Regions from separate parts of the Homo sapiens genome. Here all the other regions are linked to region 1. The links are contacts of gene promoters, found by promoter capture Hi-C in human tissues and cell types (Jung and others, 2019). All regions are on one chromosome and are shown on one strand. Each heading gives the region's core, a stretch centred on a gene start or on the middle of the fragment in contact. The rest is flanking DNA. Distances are from core to core; before and after follow the strand shown. Region 1 holds the start of ANKS3 (ankyrin repeat and sterile alpha motif domain containing 3). Region 2 overlaps HMOX2 (heme oxygenase 2). Region 3 has its middle 8.2 kb from the start of SEC14L5. Region 4 overlaps HMOX2 (heme oxygenase 2). Region 5 overlaps CDIP1 (cell death inducing p53 target 1).

What was found. The method cuts DNA at HindIII sites, captures the fragments that hold promoters and counts their contacts. A contact is called where the count stands out against the background at its distance.
Region 2: a fragment that was not itself captured here is called in contact with the fragment with the promoter of ANKS3 in region 1 in 1 of the 25 tissues and cell types used here (aorta).
Region 3: a contact is called between a fragment that was not itself captured here and the fragment with the promoter of ANKS3 in region 1, in 1 of the 25 tissues and cell types used here (dorsolateral prefrontal cortex).
Region 4: a fragment that was not itself captured here is called in contact with the fragment with the promoter of ANKS3 in region 1 in 1 of the 25 tissues and cell types used here (dorsolateral prefrontal cortex).
Region 5: a fragment that was not itself captured here is called in contact with the fragment with the promoter of ANKS3 in region 1 in 1 of the 25 tissues and cell types used here (dorsolateral prefrontal cortex).

Annotation. Positions count from the first base shown.
Region 1 is chr16:4,731,848-4,735,681 of GRCh38, forward strand. It overlaps ANKS3 (ankyrin repeat and sterile alpha motif domain containing 3), which reads right to left and starts at 2,424. Exons shown (of 18, transcript NM_133450.4): 1 at 2,091-2,424. It overlaps DNAAF8 (dynein axonemal assembly factor 8), which reads left to right and starts at 2,690. Exons shown (of 10, transcript NM_139170.3): 1 at 2,690-2,851. RefSeq lists silencers at 2,210-2,269, 2,320-2,549. The HindIII fragment of the contact is 29,621 bases long and covers 1-3,834 here.
Region 2 is chr16:4,481,453-4,485,046 of GRCh38, forward strand. All of the region lies in intron 1 of HMOX2 (heme oxygenase 2), which reads left to right. It overlaps LOC124903636 (a long non-coding RNA gene), which reads right to left. Exons shown (of 3, transcript XR_007064964.1): 2 at 312-427. Among named protein-coding and RNA genes, the nearest start is that of HMOX2, 6.9 kb to the left of the region's middle. The HindIII fragment of the contact is 6,121 bases long and covers 1-3,594 here.
Region 3 is chr16:4,948,218-4,952,040 of GRCh38, forward strand. No RefSeq gene overlaps it. Among named protein-coding and RNA genes, the nearest start is that of SEC14L5, 8.2 kb to the right of the region's middle. RefSeq lists an enhancer at 1-352. The HindIII fragment of the contact is 7,417 bases long and covers 1-3,823 here.
Region 4 is chr16:4,498,407-4,501,996 of GRCh38, forward strand. The region is part of intron 1 of HMOX2 (heme oxygenase 2); the gene reads left to right. Among named protein-coding and RNA genes, the nearest start is that of HMOX2, 24 kb to the left of the region's middle. RefSeq lists a silencer at 1,902-2,196. The HindIII fragment of the contact is 3,900 bases long and covers 237-3,590 here.
Region 5 is chr16:4,517,599-4,521,294 of GRCh38, forward strand. The region is part of intron 1 of CDIP1 (cell death inducing p53 target 1); the gene reads right to left. Among named protein-coding and RNA genes, the nearest start is that of CDIP1, 19 kb to the right of the region's middle. The HindIII fragment of the contact is 6,021 bases long and covers 1-3,696 here.

The DNA of each region.
Region 1 (3,834 bases), core at 1,174-3,673:
ACCAGGAATCCCCAAATCAAGGCAAGGTCATCAGCTTCCTAGTAGAATCCTTAGGTACAAGAGTGCCAGGAAACAAGGGTAGGAAAGGGAGCAAAGGCGAAAACAAAGGCCTTGTCAGGTTGTGATGACCTACAGGTGCTATGGTAGTTAATAGATGCGATGAGGACCTCAGTTTCTATTAAAGAATGCTTCCAAGCCCCAGGTGACAGCCAAGATGGCTAAAGAAACAAGCCACCAATGTGGGAGACGAACACTTCACAGACCCTTGGTGAAGAGTGTGTGTAGGTGCGGTGGGGCAAGCAAAGCCCTCCTTCCTGGAGCCACCACCTCTTCAGCTAGCAGAGCCCAAGATCGTGCAGTGCCCTTCCCTCACTTTGCAGGTGAGAATCCCACCCTAACAGCCCTGGCCAACGAAGCCTGGATAAGAAACCAAACGAGCTGAGGGTCAGTTCAGAGTCCCTTCCATACCTCCCTCAAGCCTTCACTGGGCATGTCTCTTCCACGCCAAAGGCCTCCTGCAGGGTGAGGCCGTGTTCTCTATTTACTGGAGACTTGCATATCTGACATCCCCAGAGGTCTGAAGGACAATGAGAACCAGACCAAGCGTGACGGACCACTTGAGGCCAGGAGTTCGAGACCACCCTGGCCAAAATGGTGAACTCCCATCTTTACTAAAATTACAAAAATTAGCTGGGTGTGGTGGTGGGCGCCTGTAGTCTCAGTACTCAGGAGGCTGAGGCAAGAGAATCGCTTGAGCCTGGGAGGCGATTGCAGTGAGCCGAGCTCAAGCCACTGCACTCCAGCCTGGGCAACAGAGCGAAATTCTGTCTCAAAAAAAAAAACAAAAAAAAAACACTAAAGTGAAAACTAAAATGTCCCATCCCGAGTGGTGTGGTGTAAAGTAGCATTAGAGATAAGACGTTTTAGTTTTCATTCAACTTTTTGGTTCTGTCCATTCTGAAAATGCTAAGTATCTGTTACCTTTACAGTGAATCCTAAAGAAAATGTGGTACTTAGACACAATGGAGTACTATTCAGCCATAAAAAAAGAATGAGATCCTATCATTTGCAAAAACATGGATGGAAGCGGAGATCGTTATGTTTAGTGAAATAAGCCAGGCACAGAAAGATAAATATTGCATGTTCTCAATTATTTGTGGTTATCTAAAAATCAAAACAACTGAACTCATGGACATAGAAAGTAGAAGGATGGTTACTTCTAGTGTAACCAAGGCTGGGAAGGGTAGTGGAGGGTGGGGATGCTTAATGGATACAAAAAAAACAGAATGAATAAGATCTAGTATTTGATCAAGCCACTGCACTCCAGCCTGGGCGACAAAGCGAGACTCCGTCTCAAAAAAAAAAAAAAAAAAAAAAAGATCTAGTATTTGACCGCACAACAGGGTGACTATAGTCAATATAATCTAATTGCACATTTTATTTATTTATTATTATTTTTTTTGAGACATAATCTCACTCTGTTACCCAGGCTAGAGTGCAGCGGCGTGATCTCGGCTCAATGCAACCTCCGCCTCCTGGGTTCAAGCGATTCTCCTGCCTCAGCTTCCCGAGTAGCTGAGATTACAGGTATGAGCCACCATGCCAGCCTAGTTTTCGTATGTTTAGTAGAGACGAAGTGTCCCCATGTTGGCCAGGCTGGTCTCAAATCCTTGACTTCAGGTGATCCGCCCGCCTTTGCCTCCCAAAGTGCTAGGATTACAGGCGTGAGTGAGCCACCGCGCCCGGCTGCACATTTAAAAATAATTCAAAGAGTATAATCATATTGTTTGTAACACAAAGGATAAATGCTTGAAGGGATGGAGACCCCCATTTTACATGTGATTATTACGAACTGCATGCCTGTATCAAAATCTCTCATATACGCCATAAATATATACACCTACTACGTACCCACAAAAATTAAAAAATTTTTAAAAATCTTAACAAATGTGATGCTGGTGGTAACTGTCACGCCCACAGAGGAGGTCTGTGAAAGCACCCAGGCACCCCCTCTCGCCCCGTGGAACCGCATCGCAAAGGTAGCTCACTGGCCCCGGGGCGGGTCCCTGGCCGACAAACCCGTAACTCACAGCAGTGACGCTTCCCGACGCCCCCCGGCCACATCCCCACAGGAACGCTACGGCGCACAGGGCATTACTGTGCCCCCACCACAACCACATAAAGAAAATGTGGGGGCTCGGTCCTCCAGTCACGCGGCGAGCAAGTGCAGCGCGGGACGCCCGAGCGCCGGGTCTAGGCGGGCTGCAGGTGCCGGCAAGTGCTGGGGCCGGGCCGCCGCGGAACCCACCTGTGCTGGGCCTCAGGCCTTGCGCCGCCCTCGGGCTGCCGTCGCCAACCCCCCCCAAACAGCTCGCCGCCACGCTCCCTCGCCGGGGCACCGCCCCCGGCACCCGCCCCGGAAGTAGTTGCGGGAGGGCGCGGAGCACGCCGGGAAGCTCGCGGGTCGGCACCGGGACAGCTCCCGGGCGCCGTGGAATGCACACGTCCCGCACCCGGACCTTCCGGTCAGCTTCCCGGCTCGCTGTCTGATGCCCGCGGTAGCCAATGAGCTAGTGGTGTTTGTCCTGCTCCGTCCCCGCCCTCCAGGGGAACCAATCCCATTGCAGGAGAGGCAGGACGCGCAAAGGCCCGAAAGAGGAGCTGGGCGGGGTGGGGGGAAGGCGGAGGCAGTCTAGTAATGTAAAGCTCCGCTGAGAGGGAGAGTGCTGAAGAAGGGGACAGCCTCTGTACCTGCGGCGCGGCCCGAGGGGCGGACGCGAGCGGAGTGACGCGCTGGAGGCTGTTTATAGCGCTGTCAGGACAGCGCGGGGAGTGGAGGCAGAGGCCTGAGGTGAGGGGCCTCGGGCCTGCTGCGCCTGCAGGGAGTTGAACAAAACGCGGGGAAATACGGGCTGGGGGTGGGTGAGAGGAGGAGCGATGGGCTTTCCACTTCCACAGCTTTAAAATTTAAAAGCTCGACCCGGGAGGCTGTTGGCGTCTGGTTGCCATAACAACCGGCAGCCTCGTGGCAGGCCGGCTGGGGGCGGGGCTCTGAGAACCGGGGCGGGGCTGTGGCGGGGCTAACAGGCTGCAGCTGAGAAACCCACCCCGAGACGGAGCCGGAAGGCCGTTATTCAGAGGCGGCTCCGAGCCTCCCCTTCGCCTTCTGGATGCTCTGAGCTCCTCAACTTGGCGTTCAGGGCCCTGCATTGTCTGGTCCGTTTTCACCGGAGAGTCCAGCAACTGACACTTTCTTCCCTTAAACCTGTTGGGCGGTTCATTCCTTTGAGCTACTGTACATGCTCTTCCTTCTGCCGGTAATGCCGTTCCCTCCCCTATTGTCTTGTCCGCCTGAAGGGTTTATCAGAGTCTCTGGAGGCCCTCTTCATCCCGACGATTCTGTTGCCCTAAGAAATACTGTGCCCTGAATTGCGGAACAGAGCTCTAGTTACAAAAAACACCCGCTGGCTGTGTGCACCAGATGCGTCCCCAACCCGCTGCTCCCAGTTCAGAGTGCACCAAGCACCTGCCCTATTCCCAGAAGTACAGAGGAAGCAAGCAGCCCCCAATTCACATCTCCTGCCGCTGCCCTGATTGGGGATGAACGGGCACTGACTGCAGGGCCAAAGCCACAGCGGCCTCTCGAGCTGCAGAGTTCTCCTGACACTGGCTCTAGAGGACCCTCACCCCCCAGCTCTCAAGCTCAAGCTCCCCAGCCCCCTGAATAACAGGACCATCTCCTTTAAGACTCTAAGATATAAATGCAGGGGCTGGTCAGAGTAGTGACTCCAAAAAAAAAAAAAAATCACTTAGTGACTCCAAACTGTCAGCCAG
Region 2 (3,594 bases), core at 905-3,404, 250 kb before region 1:
ATCATAATTTTTATGCGAAACACCTGTCATTGAGCATACAGGTGTACTGAAAGAATTGGGTGGAACAGGGTATTTGAAATCAGAATTGTTCTGGAAAGTCGGGTACATAAAGCTCTATCTTTAGCACAGTTGTCTGTATTGCACAATTAATATTTATAGAATGGTACACCTTATGTTATCTTTTTATTTTTCCACCTAACTCTCTCTCTAGATTGAAAGGTACTTGACGTGCAGAGCAAGATCTTATCTTTCTTTGTAGTCACAGTACTCAAGAGGGTGATAAATGTTTGTTGATGATAATGTAATGTCACCTGTCCAAGTGTAGCCATCATCTTCAGTAGTTACTTGATCTGCTGTTGTGTCTGGCAAGACTGCTATGTGCTGCTGCAGAGGAGCCATTGTCACCTTGAACTATCTCTGTGGCAGTCTGGAGGAGGGCAGGAGGGAGAAGGGAAGGAATAAATGAGCAAAGCTGAGTGTGGATAGTAGTGTTTGACGGCAGATGAAAAAGCAAACTTGGTGAAGTGTGGCCTGGGTGGTCATCTAACTTCTACCTAGAAGACATTAAACCTTTACTCTCTTCTTTTTATGTAGGAAGGCAGAGGGAAAGTCAGGCCTTCGGTTGGCTTGGTAATAGCAGGTATCCCAGTAATTAGAAAATAACTTAAAAAACTCCATTCCTCTACCATATACTTGAGAATTTGTCAATCTCAGCAAAATTTTCAAATGTCTGTGTTCAGTGTCATATTTGTCCTGCTCTGTAAGACTTTTTGTGTTTATAAAAAGGCAAGTGGACCCAGAAGGGGAAAAATATGCTGTTCTGAGAAACTAGCTGCTGTAGGTTATGCTTTTCTGTCTTTGCTTGTGGCTCTTCTGGTTATTTGAGAAAGGCAAAAAAACCCAAAGTCTTTTTTCTACTCTGTTCCCACAGTCACTCAACACAACACTTCTGATACCAGATATATGGGAGTTGTTTCCCCATACACCAAGCAATTCTCTAGTAGACACACCGGTGCGGTGTCCTCTAAGTCAGTTAAATTCTGATACTCTATCTGGAGATAGCGTCAGATCCCACCAATTGAGGGCTCAGTCCCACAAAACTGTCCCAACTTGAGGCACTAGTCACAAGTAGTAAATTGTCACCTATACTTCTGACCTACTAGCTATAAATCGAAAGTTCTGACAATCCCTCCTCGAGTTTGATTAATCTGCTAGAGTGGGTCACAGAACTCAGGAAAACACTTTACTTACATTTACCAATTTACTCTAAAGGATATTAAGAAGGATACAGATGGCTGGGCGTGCTGGTTCATGCCTGTAATCCCAGCACTTTGGGAGGCCAAGGAGGGCAGATCACCTGAGGTCAGGAGTTTGAGACCAGCCTGACCAATGTGGTGAAACCCCATTTCTAGTAAAAATACAAAAAAATTAGCCGGGTGTGGTCGTGCATGCCTGTAGTCCCAGCCACTAGGGAGGCTGAGGCAGGAAAATCGCTTGGACCCTGGGGGCAGATGTTGCAGTGAAATGAGATCACGCCACCGCACTCCATCCAGCCTGGGCGACAGACTGGAAGAAAAAAAAAGGATACAGATGAATAGCCAGATGGAAGAGATGTATAGGGTGAGGCATGTAGGAAGAGGCATGAAGCTTCTACGCCCTCTCTGGAACTTTCGTGTATTCAGCTATCCTGAAGCTAATGCAAACCCTGGTGTGTGTGTGTGTGTGTGTGTGTGTGTGTGTGTGTGTGTGTGTGTGTGTGTGTGTGTGTGTGTTTATGGAGGCTTCATTACAAAGGCATAATTGAATACGTTATTGGCCACTGGTGATCAACTCAACCTTTAGACCTTCTCCCGTCCCCTGAGGTTAAGGGGGTAGGGCTGAAAGTTCCCACCCTCTAATCACATGGTTGGTTCCCCAGGCAATCAGCCCCCATCTAGGAGCCCACCAAGAGTTACTTACTTACAACAAAAGATGCTCCTATTACCCAGGAAATTCCAAGGGATTTAGGAAATTACAAAAGTTTTAGGAGCTCTGTGTCAGGAACTGAGGTTAAAGACCAATATCAGAATGAAGGATTCTCCTAGTGCCCCCATCTACAAAGGTTTTAGGAGCTCTGTGCCAGGAACCTAGGGTGCAGATCAAATATATCTATAAATCTTTTTGTTTGTTTGTGTTTTGAGACAGAGTCTTGCTGCGACACCCAGGCTGGAGTGCAATGGCGCTATCTCGGCTCACTGCAACCTCCGCTTCCCGGATTCAAGCGATTCTCCTGCCTCAGCCTCCCGAGTAGGTGGGACTACAGGTGTGCGCCACTATACCTGGTTAATTTTTGTATTTTTAGTAGAGACGGGGTTTCACCATATTAACCAGGCTGGTCTTGAACTCCTGACCTCAAGTGATCTGCCCACCTCAGCCTCCTGAAGTGCTGGGATTACAGGCATGAGCCGCTGCATCCAGCCTCAAATTTATCTCTGTATCTTCTTCTAAATTACAGTATCACACCCGTGCATATGCCCAAAAATTTTTTTTTTTTTTTTTTTGAGACGGAGTCTTGCTCTGTCGCCCAGGCTGGAGTGCAGTGGTGCGATCTCGGCTCACTGCAGGCTCCGCCTCCCAGGTTCACGCCATTCTCCTGCCTCAGCCTCCCGAGTAGCTGGGACTACAGGCTCCCGCCACCATGCCCGGCTAATTTTTTGTATTTTTAGTAGAGACGGGGTTTCACCGTGTTAGCCAAGATGGTCTCAATCTCCTGACCTCATGATCCACCCACCTTGGCCTCCCAAAGTGCTGGGATTACAGGCGTGAGCCACTGCACCCGGCCTCATATGCCCAAATTTTAAAGGAGGCACCACATTCAAGTCCAAATGCCTAAAGGTAGAAGGATCAAGAAACAGTAGTATGAGGCCATTTGAGAAGTATATATAGTTATCCCTCAGTATCTGTGGAGATTAGTTCCAGGACCCCTCAAGGGTACCAAGATCCAGGATGCTCAAGTTTCTTTTCTTTTCTTTTTTTTTTTTTTTTTTGAGACGGAGTCTTGCACTGTCACCCAGGCTGGAGTGCAGTGGTACGATTTCGGCTCACTGCAATCTCCACCTCCCGGGTTCAAATGATTCTCCTGCCTCAGCCTCCCGAGTAGCTGGGATTACAGGTGTGCACCACCACGCCTGGCTGATTTTTGTATTTTTAGTAGAGGTGAGGTTTCACCATATTGGCCAGGCTGGTCTCGAACTCCTGACTTCAGGTGAGCCGCCTGCCGCGGGCTCCCAAAGTGCTGGTATTACAGGCATGAGCCACTGTGCCCAGCTTAAGTTTCTTATATAAAATGGTGTATAGAATTTGCATATAACCTATGCATATCTTCTGTATTCTTTAAATCATCTGTATTTATAATACCCAATACAGTGCTATGTAAATAGTTGTTATACTGTATCGTTTAGGTAATCATGACAAGAAAAAAAATCTGTACATGTGTAGTACATATGTAGCCATCTGTTGTTTTTTTTTTCCCTGAAGATTGATTGGTTGATTGAGACGGCATCTCACTCTGTCACCGAGGCTGGAGTGCAGTGGCGCAGTCTTGGCTCACTGCAA
Region 3 (3,823 bases), core at 1,166-3,665, 220 kb after region 1:
ATTCTCTAATCACAAGCTCAGGCTTAATCCCCACACACGCCCAGGACTCCGCTCTGGGCAAATACTCCTCCTTTCAGCCCTGGAGTCCCTGACCTCCCGCTACCCAGACCATCCTGTCCCCTGTCCCCAGCCAAAAGGCCCCCCTCCACTGGTTGGGGGTGGGGAGACCTCAGTGTAGCCTTGTCCAATAAAACTGCCTGTGACAATGGAAATATTCTGTATACATGGAGGCGGCAAGCCACATGTGGCTACTGAGCACGTGAAATGTGACTAGTGCAACTGAGGAATTGAATTGTTAATTTTTAAAAATTCATTTTAATCCATTAATTTATTTTTTGTAGAGATGGGAGATTCTCACTGTGTTGCCCAGGGTGCCTTGAACTCCCGAGCTCAAGCCATCCTCCGGACTAAGCCTCCCACAGTGCTGGGATGACAGTCGCCTGCCGCCACGCCCAGCCTGAATTGTTAATTTTATTGTTTATGTGTATTGTTATTTATGTAAATATAGAGCATATTCATATTTACAGAATTTAATTAATGCAAACGTAAGTAGCAGCGTGCATCTGGTGGCTGTCGCAGGGTCCACCTGGGCCCAGGCATGGAGAAGAGGACAGCTCGGGTCCCTGGTCCTCTTCTTGGCAGGGGCAGCCTAGAGGGGCTGGGTGGCAGCTGAGGCCTCAGGCACTGAGCTGGGGGGTCCCTGGAGTCGCTGTGTTGATGGGGCTGAGCTTTGGGTGTTGGTGCCTGTGGCCCCTCCCCAGCGGCCAGTCCCTTGTTCTGACCCCTGCTTGGTGGTCAGAATCACACACTGAGAGCTCCTGAAGACCTGAGCTGACCTTCAGGTGGGACTGTCCGGCTCCAATGACAAGAGGTCGTTTTCCCCAGGTTCCTCTGTCTGCATCCGCTCCACGGATGCGCTCTCTAGGAACAGCTTCCCCTTCCTGGTTCTCCTGGGTCTCCCTTTCCATTCCTACAGCATCTACCTGGGCAAGAGATCTAGGGTCTCACCCCCTCACCTCCAGATTCCTGAGGTCACTTTGGTGGCCTCCCTCCTCCTGGCTCCTCCTCCGTGCTCTCTGCACCCTTCCCCCTCCTCCACCGTGGTCAACTACAATCTATTCCCAACACAGCAACCAGAGGGCTAAAGTGAAGTCAGCAGACTCCCCTGTCCCATACCTCCCAGACACTCTGAGTACCTCAGCATCAGAGCCAGATAACCCATGAGACCCCCTCCCTCAGGCTCCCCTCAGAGTCTGCTCTCTTCCCCGCCACTTCCCTCCCACTAACTCTACCCCCGATACACTGACCGCCTCCCCAATACTCAAACACGCCAAGTATGCTCCTGCCTCAGGGCCTTTGCATCGGCTGCCCCCTTGGCCCCACTCTCTACGTGGACCCCCTGCTCTTCTTCCAAGCCTTTGTGCCAAGTCACCTTCTCAGCGCAGCCCACCTGGTCCCTACATTGTAATCTGCCCTGCACTTCCCACCCTCTTTCCCTGCTCACCAATCATGGCACTCAGTGCAATCTAACCCACAACAGAAGCCACTCACGGATACAAAAAAATAAGCCAGGTGTGGTGGTGGGCGCCTGTAATCCCAGCTACTCAGGAGGCTGAGGCAGGAGAATCGCTTGAACCCGGGAGGCGGAGGTTGCAGTGAGCTGAGATCGCGATTCTGCACTCCAGCCTGGGTGACAGAGTGGGACTGTGTCTCAAAAAAAAAAAAAAAAAAAAAAGGGGAGTGAAGGCCTGACATGCGCTTCAGCATGGTTGACCGTGAGCACATTAGGCTCAGTAAGAAAAGCCAGATACACAACGGCACATATTATACGATCCTGCCTGTGAAATGTTCAGAGGTGAATTCGTAGAGATGGAAAGGAGACTGTGGCTGCTGGGGAGAGGGGAGTGGCGAGTGACTGCTAAGGGGCACAGGTGATGATAGTGCTCTCAAATTGACCATGCTGATGGTTGTGCAACTCTGAAACTACCAAAACCGGCTGGATGGCACTCTTTTTTTTTTTATTTTTTTTTTTGACAGGGTCTTTCTCTCTCTCTCTCCTTTTTTTTTTTTTTTTTTTTTTTTTTTTGAGATGGAGCTTTGCTCTTGTTGCCCAGGTTGGAGTGCAGTGGCGCGATCTCAGCTTACCGCAACCTCCGCCTCCCAGGTTCAAGTGATTCTCCTGCCTCAGCCTTCCTGAGTAGCTGGGATTACAGGCATGCATCACCACGCCCGGCTAATTTTGTATTTTTAGTAGAGACAGGGTTTCTCCATGTTGGTCAGGCTGGTCTTGAACTCCCGACCTCAGGTGATCTGCCCACTTCGGCCTCCCAAACTGTTGGGATTACAGGCATGAGCCACCACGCCCGGCCCCTGTTTTTTATTTTTACTTTTTTTTTTTTGAGACAGAGTCTTGCTGTGTTGCCTAGGCTGGAGTGCAGTGGCACGATCTCGGCTCACTGCAACCTCTGCCTCCCGGGTTCAAGCAATTTTCCTGCCTTAGCCTCCCAAGTAGCTGGGAGTACAGGTGCCTGCCACCATGCCCGGCTAATTTTTTTTGTATTTTTAGTACAGATGGGGTTTCACTATGTTGGTCAGGCTGGTCTTGAACTCCTGACCTTGTGATCTGCCTGCCTCGGCCTTCCAAAGTGCTGGGATTATAGGCGTGAACCACCTCACCCGGCCTTAAAATTTTTTGTAGAGACTGGAGCCTTACTATTTTGCCCATGCTGGTTTTGAACTCCTGGGCTAAACTGGTCCTCTCTCCTTGGCCTCTCAAAGGGCTGAGATTACAGGTGTGATCCCCTGTGCCCAGCCAAGGGTATTGCTGTACTGCTGAGGCTGGAGTGCAGTGGTGTGATCATTGCTCACTGCAGCCTGGAACTTCTGGCCTCAAGCAATCCTCCTGGCTCGGCCTCCCAAAGTTCGGGGATGATAGAGGTGAGCCATCAGACCCAGCTGAATTGCATACTTTAAATAAATGAATTCTGTATCTCCAAAAGGCAGAGTTATCACCTTCCTATACTGTGTTGGCCACCCCCTCAAATGTCCAACGTCAAGTCCTCACTCCCCTTCACCCTAAATTCCCGTGGGAAATGCCCCTCCTTCTAAGCCCGCACAGTTACAAACATGTACCCGGGTCCTCTGGTGGTCCCTGTGCAATTACTTTTCCTCACGCAATTTCCACCAACCTTCAGGATAACACTATGGTTAACCCCATTAAAAAAAAAGTTTCCAATGTGATTTTTTTTTTTTTTTGAGACGGGGTTTCACTCTGTCACCCAAGCTGAAGTGCAGTGGCACAATCTCGGCTCATTGCGACCTCTGCCTCCAGGTTCAAGCGATTCTCATACCTCAGCCATCCGAGTAGCTGGGATTATAGGGGCCTGCCACCACGCCTGGTTAATTTTTGTATTTTTTTGTAGAGACAGGGTCTCACCATGTTGTCCAGGCTGGTCTCGAACTCCTGACCTCAGATGATCTGCCCACCTTGGCCTACCAAAGTGCTGAGATTATAGGAGTGAGCCACTGTGCCTGGCCTCAATGTGATTTTTTAAAACAAGGCTAATCAGGTGAAGCAGTGGGAGTGGAGAAAACAAAACAAAACAAAACAAAACAAACACATCTGCAACGGGTTGAGACAATTAGTTGTAAACACCACTGCACTCAGACCAGCTCCTGTTATTTTTTTTATTGCAGTAAGATATATATAAAACATTGCCCATCTTAATTAATCATTTTTCAGTGTGCAGTTCAGTGGCATTCACATTATTGTGTAACCATCACACCATCCATCTCCAAAACTCCTTTTTTTTTTTTTTTTTTT
Region 4 (3,590 bases), core at 937-3,436, 230 kb before region 1:
ACTCCCTTGCCAGGCTGGAGTGCAACGGTGTGATCATAGTTCACTGCATCCTTGAACTCCTGGGGTCAAAAGATCCTCTTGCCCCAGTTTCCCGAGTGGTTGGGACTACAGGTGTGTGTCACCACGCCTGGCTAATTATTTTATTTTTCGTAGAGACAAGGTCTGACTGTGTTGCCCAGGCTAGTCTTGAGCTCCTAGGCTTAGGTGATCCTCCCACCTTGGCCTCCCAAAGTGTCAGGATTATAGGTGTGAGCCACTGCACCCAGCCTGGATTTGCTCTTTTATCAAGAGGTTAATATTTATTCTTCCGTTCAGTGAACCGTGGGATTGAATTCCCCCAGCGATTGAAATGAAAGGGCTTATGTATAACATTTCCTGAGGAATGGTAGTACCAGAGTTCAGAGGAGACCTCAGGCCATTTATTCTATAAACTCAGAAGCTGTAGTTCTAGATGATGTGGCTTCTTCAGGGTGTTGAGAAGTCTCTGTTATCTCGTGCCTTGTTGGATTAGAACTGATTGAGCTCTGTCTGCTGCCCCAAACATGTGGCTCAGCCAATCTCCAGTGGCATCTGCAATGTGGGTATTCTAGCCTCCAGTGCTCACGTGGCTCACCTTAGAAAGGGCAGATATTCCTATTTCCTGACGCTGCTGGAGAATGAGGTCTGAGTCAGAAGTCCTCAGGTGTGACCTGCCCAGAACTATCTGAAATTGCTGGATTTCTTGTTCTTCCTCAGTGTTTAACAATCACCCAATTGCTCATTCTCACCAGCGACTTCCTCAGTAAGAGCTCAATATTTGAGGTGGTGCTGCATTTTGTCAAACATTCATGCGTGTTAGCCCACTTAGTCTTCGCAGCACACAGTGGATTAATGGATTTTTAAAAGCTGGTATTTATGCACGATGGAATACTACTCAACCATAAACAAGAAGGAAATTCTGTCATTTGTGACTACATGGATGCATCTAGAGGACATTATGCTAAGTGAAGTAAGCCAAAGAAAGAAAGACAAATGGTGCATGATATCACTTATATGTGAAATCTGAAAAAGTCAGTTATAGAAGGAGAGTGTAACATGTTGGTTACCAGCGGCTGGGGGAAGGGAAGGGTGGGTGTGGAAAGGGGAGATGTTGATCAAAGGGTACAAAATTTCAGTTAGGAGAAATAAGGTCTGATGATCTGCCTTACAGCATGGTGACTATAGTTAATATGGTTAATATTATAATAGTATTGTATACTTCAAAATTGGTAAAAGAGTGGATTTTAAAAGTTGTCACCACAAAGAAATGATAAGCATGTGAGCTGATGGATATGTTAATAACCCTGATTTAATTATTCCCCAATGTATACATGTGTCCAAACATCACACTGTACCCCATAAATATAATTGTCAGTTAAAAACTTAGGAGTCAAGTCAGATCTGAAGAGAAGTCAAAACAGATTTCATACAGTTAATTTAGAGACATGGGACCCAATTAAAAATTTGTATTACTTTACTTGGTATTTTAGAATTTAGCTGTTATTTTCTTGTTACACACACAGGCACAGGCACACAAATCCTCTATTTAACTGGCTTTCTCAGTAGGAACTCCATCTGTGTATTTGCAACAGCTGTAACTCAGGTTGGATGCTCCCCAGGGTGCTGGCCTATAAGTCATATTGGACCCTGATCTGAATCTGAGGGAATCTGGATCTCTCTTGTAGGAAGCTTTTGGTTTAACTGGGAAGACAGGATGACAGTCAGTTGTGGAAGCTGAAGCGTAATCACCTCATATTAATATGGTGGCAATTTTATATCGGAGTGAGCTCTGAGCTGCAAACAGCCTTCTAGGAAGCAGGCAGGGGACCCCCATCCAGGGTGATGGTAAGAATCCTGATGCCCAACTGCAAGGTGTTCAGCAGGGAGGGAGCACTCGTGGAGTCCCAGTGCAGAAGTCTCTGAGCAGCCACTTAGCCTCCCTGTGTTTGTGGGGTAACAACCCGAGTTCATGTTGTGGGCATCTCATGCAGTGTAGTAGCTGGTCACTGTCAAGTGTCACTATTTCATTGAGTCAGAAGCCTGCAGAATTGTTCTCATTCCAGGGAGTGAGTCAGTCTGCTGTTGCTTACTCTCGGTGCTGGCTGAGCTCAGCAACCTGCTCTCTTCCTTCAGTTCAGGTTTCTCCAGGGCAAAGAAGTCTTTATTGTTCCTTTCTGTATGACCAGATGGGAAATGAATTATAATATAGTCCTTAGATTATATTCCCACCTGGTAGCAATGCACTGAGTTACCTGACCTGAAATTTGTTGGACTTAGTCTCCATGGAGGAGGATTTACCATCTTCGTTGTCTCAGAAGTCCTGGTAGTGCCTCATGCCAGCAATTTAGCAGGAGCAAAAGCTTTGAGACAGTGTTCTGGATCTGCTGAGCTGGTCTAAAGGAACCTCTTTTGCTTGAAGTAACTGTGATAGGAACTTTGTTACTGCTTCTGTTAGCTCAGGTGTTGGAATGAGAATCAGCAGCTGATGAGGTGAACAGCTAGGAGTACTGGAATTATGGAGTAGTGGAGGTAGATTTTATAAACAGAGGGTCCCAGTTTTTTGGAAATGGGAAAGAGAGAGGGTAGACTGGCCTTTCTAGAATTTGTAACAGAAAAGAGGACCCAGGAGCTTCCATTGACTAGTTAGTTAATGCAGTGCGGGATCTTAGCTGGTTTGCTTGGTCCAATTCCTGTCTCTCGGTTTCTTTTTTCCCTTCCCTTCGCTGCCTTCCCCTCCCTCTTCCCTTTTTCTTTCCAAGAGAATTGAGTCACTCCATATAAAAGAAGCAGCCAGTTGGCTAAAAAGTCCAACAAAAAACAAGTATTTATAGCTCTCCAAATTTCCCACTTGTCATTATCAGTATACTTTTGCACACAGTTATAGTCGGTGTTTGGGATCCTTTTTAAAAAAATAAAAAGTTTCTGTAGGCTTTTCCATGCATGAACACAGCTTATCAACTTGCCCCGGCTGTGCCAGGATTCCATTGTTGACTGTTGTTTGAGCAGTCATGCCCTTTGTTCTTAGGCTGTGTGTTGTTTTTTTCCTAACATCATAGTATGGCTGGGTATTATTTTGATACAGATTACAATTACTATTACTATTTCTTGAAGTGTATTTCCCAGAGTGGAATATTTTAGGATCTTTTTTTCTCTTTTGTGGGGGTGGGGAACATGTAGCTTCTTGTGGATATTAGACATTGAAGTCTAAAAAGGTTCTATATTTATGATTTGGCCCTCAATTTTCTAGAGATTCCAATGGTTCCTGCAAAGAAAAGAGCATTCAAGTATAGAAACCAGCCAGACTAAGTCTGGACATGTAGCTTTTCAGAAAGTGAAAAAAAATTATGTTTCTGCAGTTGCAAGGTGGCCTCTGAATGCCACACTGTGTGGCCACTCCCTTGGACAGTGGCTAGGCCACAGGGTCGCCTCCCCTGGCCCCAGTCTGTGGGTTGAATATGCTAACCGAGCCTTCCCAGGAGCCTCCTCTGCCCCCAGCCCCCAGGTCTGTACAGATGGTAGTTGGTACTTTCAGCCCGCCTTGAGAACTCAGTATTCTTCCTGTTAGCTTTCCT
Region 5 (3,696 bases), core at 271-2,770, 220 kb before region 1:
GGCATGATAATGTATGCCTGTAGTCCCAGCTACTGGGGAGGCTGAGGCAGGAGGATCACCTGAGCCCAAGACTCAGAGGATACAGTGAGCCATGATCAGGCCACTGCACTCTAGCCTGGGCAACAGTGCGAGACCCTGTCTCAAAAAACAAAAAAAAAAAAAACAGAACAGGGAGTAGCAGCAGTGCCTCTTGGGGCTGGTCCTGGGGTCCCTTGCCCAGGCTGCTCCTAGCCTGCCAGGTGCCCTCCTGCAGGGGAGAAGAGGGCAGCCTTTCATGGGGCTTTACCTGCGTCTGGAAAACTGCTCCAATACGTTGAGTTGGAATAAGTGCCAGCCCCTGCTACAAACTCCCAGACTCCCAGAAAATGCTCTCTGGCGCCTCTGGGTGGCACCACCGTCCACCAAGTGGCCCAACACTGTGGTCTGCAGTGGTCTTGCTCATCGGGGAATGGTCCAGGCCCTGGGATGCTCTGAGCAGACCAGGAAAATAAGCTGCACTGTGCTTGGTGAGTCACTGAAGCACCTGCAGATCCCAGCCTGGGTCCCTTGCAGGGAGCACACACACACACACGTGTGCACACACACCCCATCTCTGAGAATGCAGGTGTTGCCTTTCTCTGGCCCATCTTTTCATCAAAGTCAACAGATATAATCCTATGATCTCCTAGAGCTCAAAAATTCTATTTCTGGAATTCCACATACAGCCTTGCCCATGATGATAGGGTGTAAGCCCACAGGGCATAGCCCTCCTTTGGTGTTCACCCAACCTGGGTACAGAAAATGCAGGCCACAGGGAAGGGTCTGGACCTGCACAGGGCTGGCTTCCCCTCCAGCTCGATGGCCACACCAGAGCCCACCTTCTCTTTGCCCCTCACCGGGGGCCGCAGGGCCCTGTTGCTCCTCCGTGTCTTCCCCACCTAGGGCCATGCCTGCTACTCACTGCTCCCCCTCACCCCTCCATATCCACATGCGTCCTCCTGCTGCCTTCCTGAACCCCAGCAGAGACTGCAGGGCAGGTCCTTCTCTACCAAGGAGAGGATCTGGAAAACAGCTCATGAAGATTTCCCGAATTCAAACACCCATTCTCCCAGTGCCTTCCAATACAAAATCAAACATGCATTCCCACAAAACCATGTTGTGTAGGGTGTAATAAAAACTACAAGAATAATCTTTCAATCACACGATCAGAAGCAAAATAGTTTTCCAATAAAACGAGTACTGTTCAAATTAAGCTACAAAATGGAAAATGTCTGATCTGAAAATGCAGCCCCAGCACCTCTGCTGTGGGAAGGTGCTGGTGAGGGAGGGGGCTAGGAGACCTGGGGATCTGCCCAGTTCCCAACAGAGGAGGAAGGGGAGACTTGCGGGGTCTGGGGAGCCCACTGAAGTCAACTTGCAGCCCTGACAAATCCAAGAGAGGCTTCTTGGCCTTCTTGCTTTAAATCTTGGATTTATTAATTGCAAACAAAATAGGTGCCTGTTTGAAAATCTTTACAAGTCAATCACAAACTTAATAGTAAGTCACTCCTATGGAAGACCAGAGGCCTCTGCAAAGTCTACCCCTCCACACCCTCTGGGTTCTGTGGCATGTGAAGGTGTGGAGAAAAAACCTGTTTCTCCTCTGCTTTCACACCATAACAATCAACAGAAAAGACTTCTGTGGCAAAACATGTGGGGGTTTCTCCCCAATAACAAGCAAGCAGTCAGTTCTGCAGCGGACACCAGGTGGACGTCTTCTAGTGGCATTCAAGTCTGATGCTACCGTGTCAGATCCCACAGGTTGAGGGCTCAGTTCCATGACTGCCCCCCACTTCTGATCATCGCAATTCCTAGCTTGCGACCTGCGCTTCTGACAGACTGGCTACAAATCACTATCTTGGGAGCGGATTCCTTGTAAGAGGATTAGCTAGTCTTTTGTGGGTGCCTCTCCCCGCGGCCCTTCCACCATGGGATGACACAGCAAGAAGGCCCTTGCCAGATGCTGGCAGTGCCTTGATCCTGGACTTCCCAAGCACCACAGTTTTGATGACTGATGGTGAGGCTTAATGGGAGTTGTTTGGGACATGGGAGGTGGATTCCTCATGAATAGATAAATGCCCTCCCTGGGGTGGAGGAGAAGCGAGTGACTTCTCACTCTGTTAGTCCCCGCATCCTTGCTGGTTGTCAGAAAGAGCCCAGCGCTTCCCCTCCCCTTCTCACCCCCTCTCTCGCCATGTGATCTCTGCACAGAGACCCCCCGTGCCTTCCACCATGAATGGAAGCAGCCTGAGGCCCTCAACAGAAGCAGATGTTGGCACCGTGCCATCCTATAAAGCCTGCAGAACCAGGAACCAAATACTCTCTTTTCTTTATAAATTACTCAGCCTCAGGTAATTTATAGCAACACAAATAGACTAAGACACCAGCCTCCAGAACTGTAAGGAGATAAATTCCTCTTCTTTATGAATGACCCAGTCTCAGGTATTCTGTTAGAGAAGCACAATGGACTAATACTACATCAAGACTTGACAAGTGGTAGGTTTTTTTTTTTTTTAGACAGAGTCTCGCTCTATCACCAGGCTGGAGTGCAGTGGCGCAATCTTGGCTCACTGCAGCCTCCGCCTCCCGGGTTCAAGCGATTCTCCTGCCTCAGCCTCCTGAGGAGCTGGGACTACAGGCATGCCACCCATCTAATTTTTGTATTTTTAGTAGAGATGGGGTTTCACCATGTTGACCAGGATGGTCTCAATCTCTTGACCTCGTCATCTGCCCGCCTCGGCCTCCCAAAGTGCTGGGATTACAGGTGTGAGCCACCGCACTTGACCGACAAGTGGTAGTTTCTTAAGGGTTAGTTGCCACAGGAATTGGAAGCCTTAACAATGGTTTTTTTCTAATGTGTTACATTAGAAGTCATTGGTGTACCTTGCATTTGGAATGGGTCTTTTACATAGACATGATTTCTTAACATCATGTGTGGGTCACCTGAAAATACGGGTTCCTGTAATGCAGATCTACCAATGTTGACACATCTCATTGAACAATATATATTTTTTTAAATCACATTGCTGGTATCACTACCAATGTCATTAAAGTCACTAAATATTGTTAACGCTAATCATCATTTGAAAGCTTGAATTTCATCACTGGCAACAAAGCACTAACAAATATAGAAACAGCAACATATACAAAAATAAAAGGTCAGTTGTTTCCCTTGAAGTAGCAAGTTCACTTTGCTCATTTTCAAGAAAGTGTATGCTAAATATCCAAATCTGAATAACCACGGTGTGTGCCAGTTGTTCTTTAAGTGAAGATGGAGTCCATGAAAAAGGCAGCTAGTTCGGCCCACACTTCAAATGAATGCACGTGTGCTTTTCCTCACGACAGCATCAAACTCCATTTGACATACTTCATGTGTGCCTCATTTCGTCACAAAGGATCTTAAAAAGCTGTGGACTCATGGGTCAGGACTTAATAAAGTTGATTTTTACTGCTTTTTCTGATGCAACACTGGTGTGTGTGTGTGTGTGTGTGTACTGTGTGTGTGGTGGTGAAGACTCAATTACAACAAGACCAGCACAGTGTGGTGCCAGTCTTGAGTCAGTGCAGGCCCCACAGCTTGTTTCCGCACTGCTCCTACACCATCAATGTGAAAGCCATCACAAACAAAGAGGCATGGTAACAAATCATGGCCGTGTTATTATTAAAACAGTTCTGATC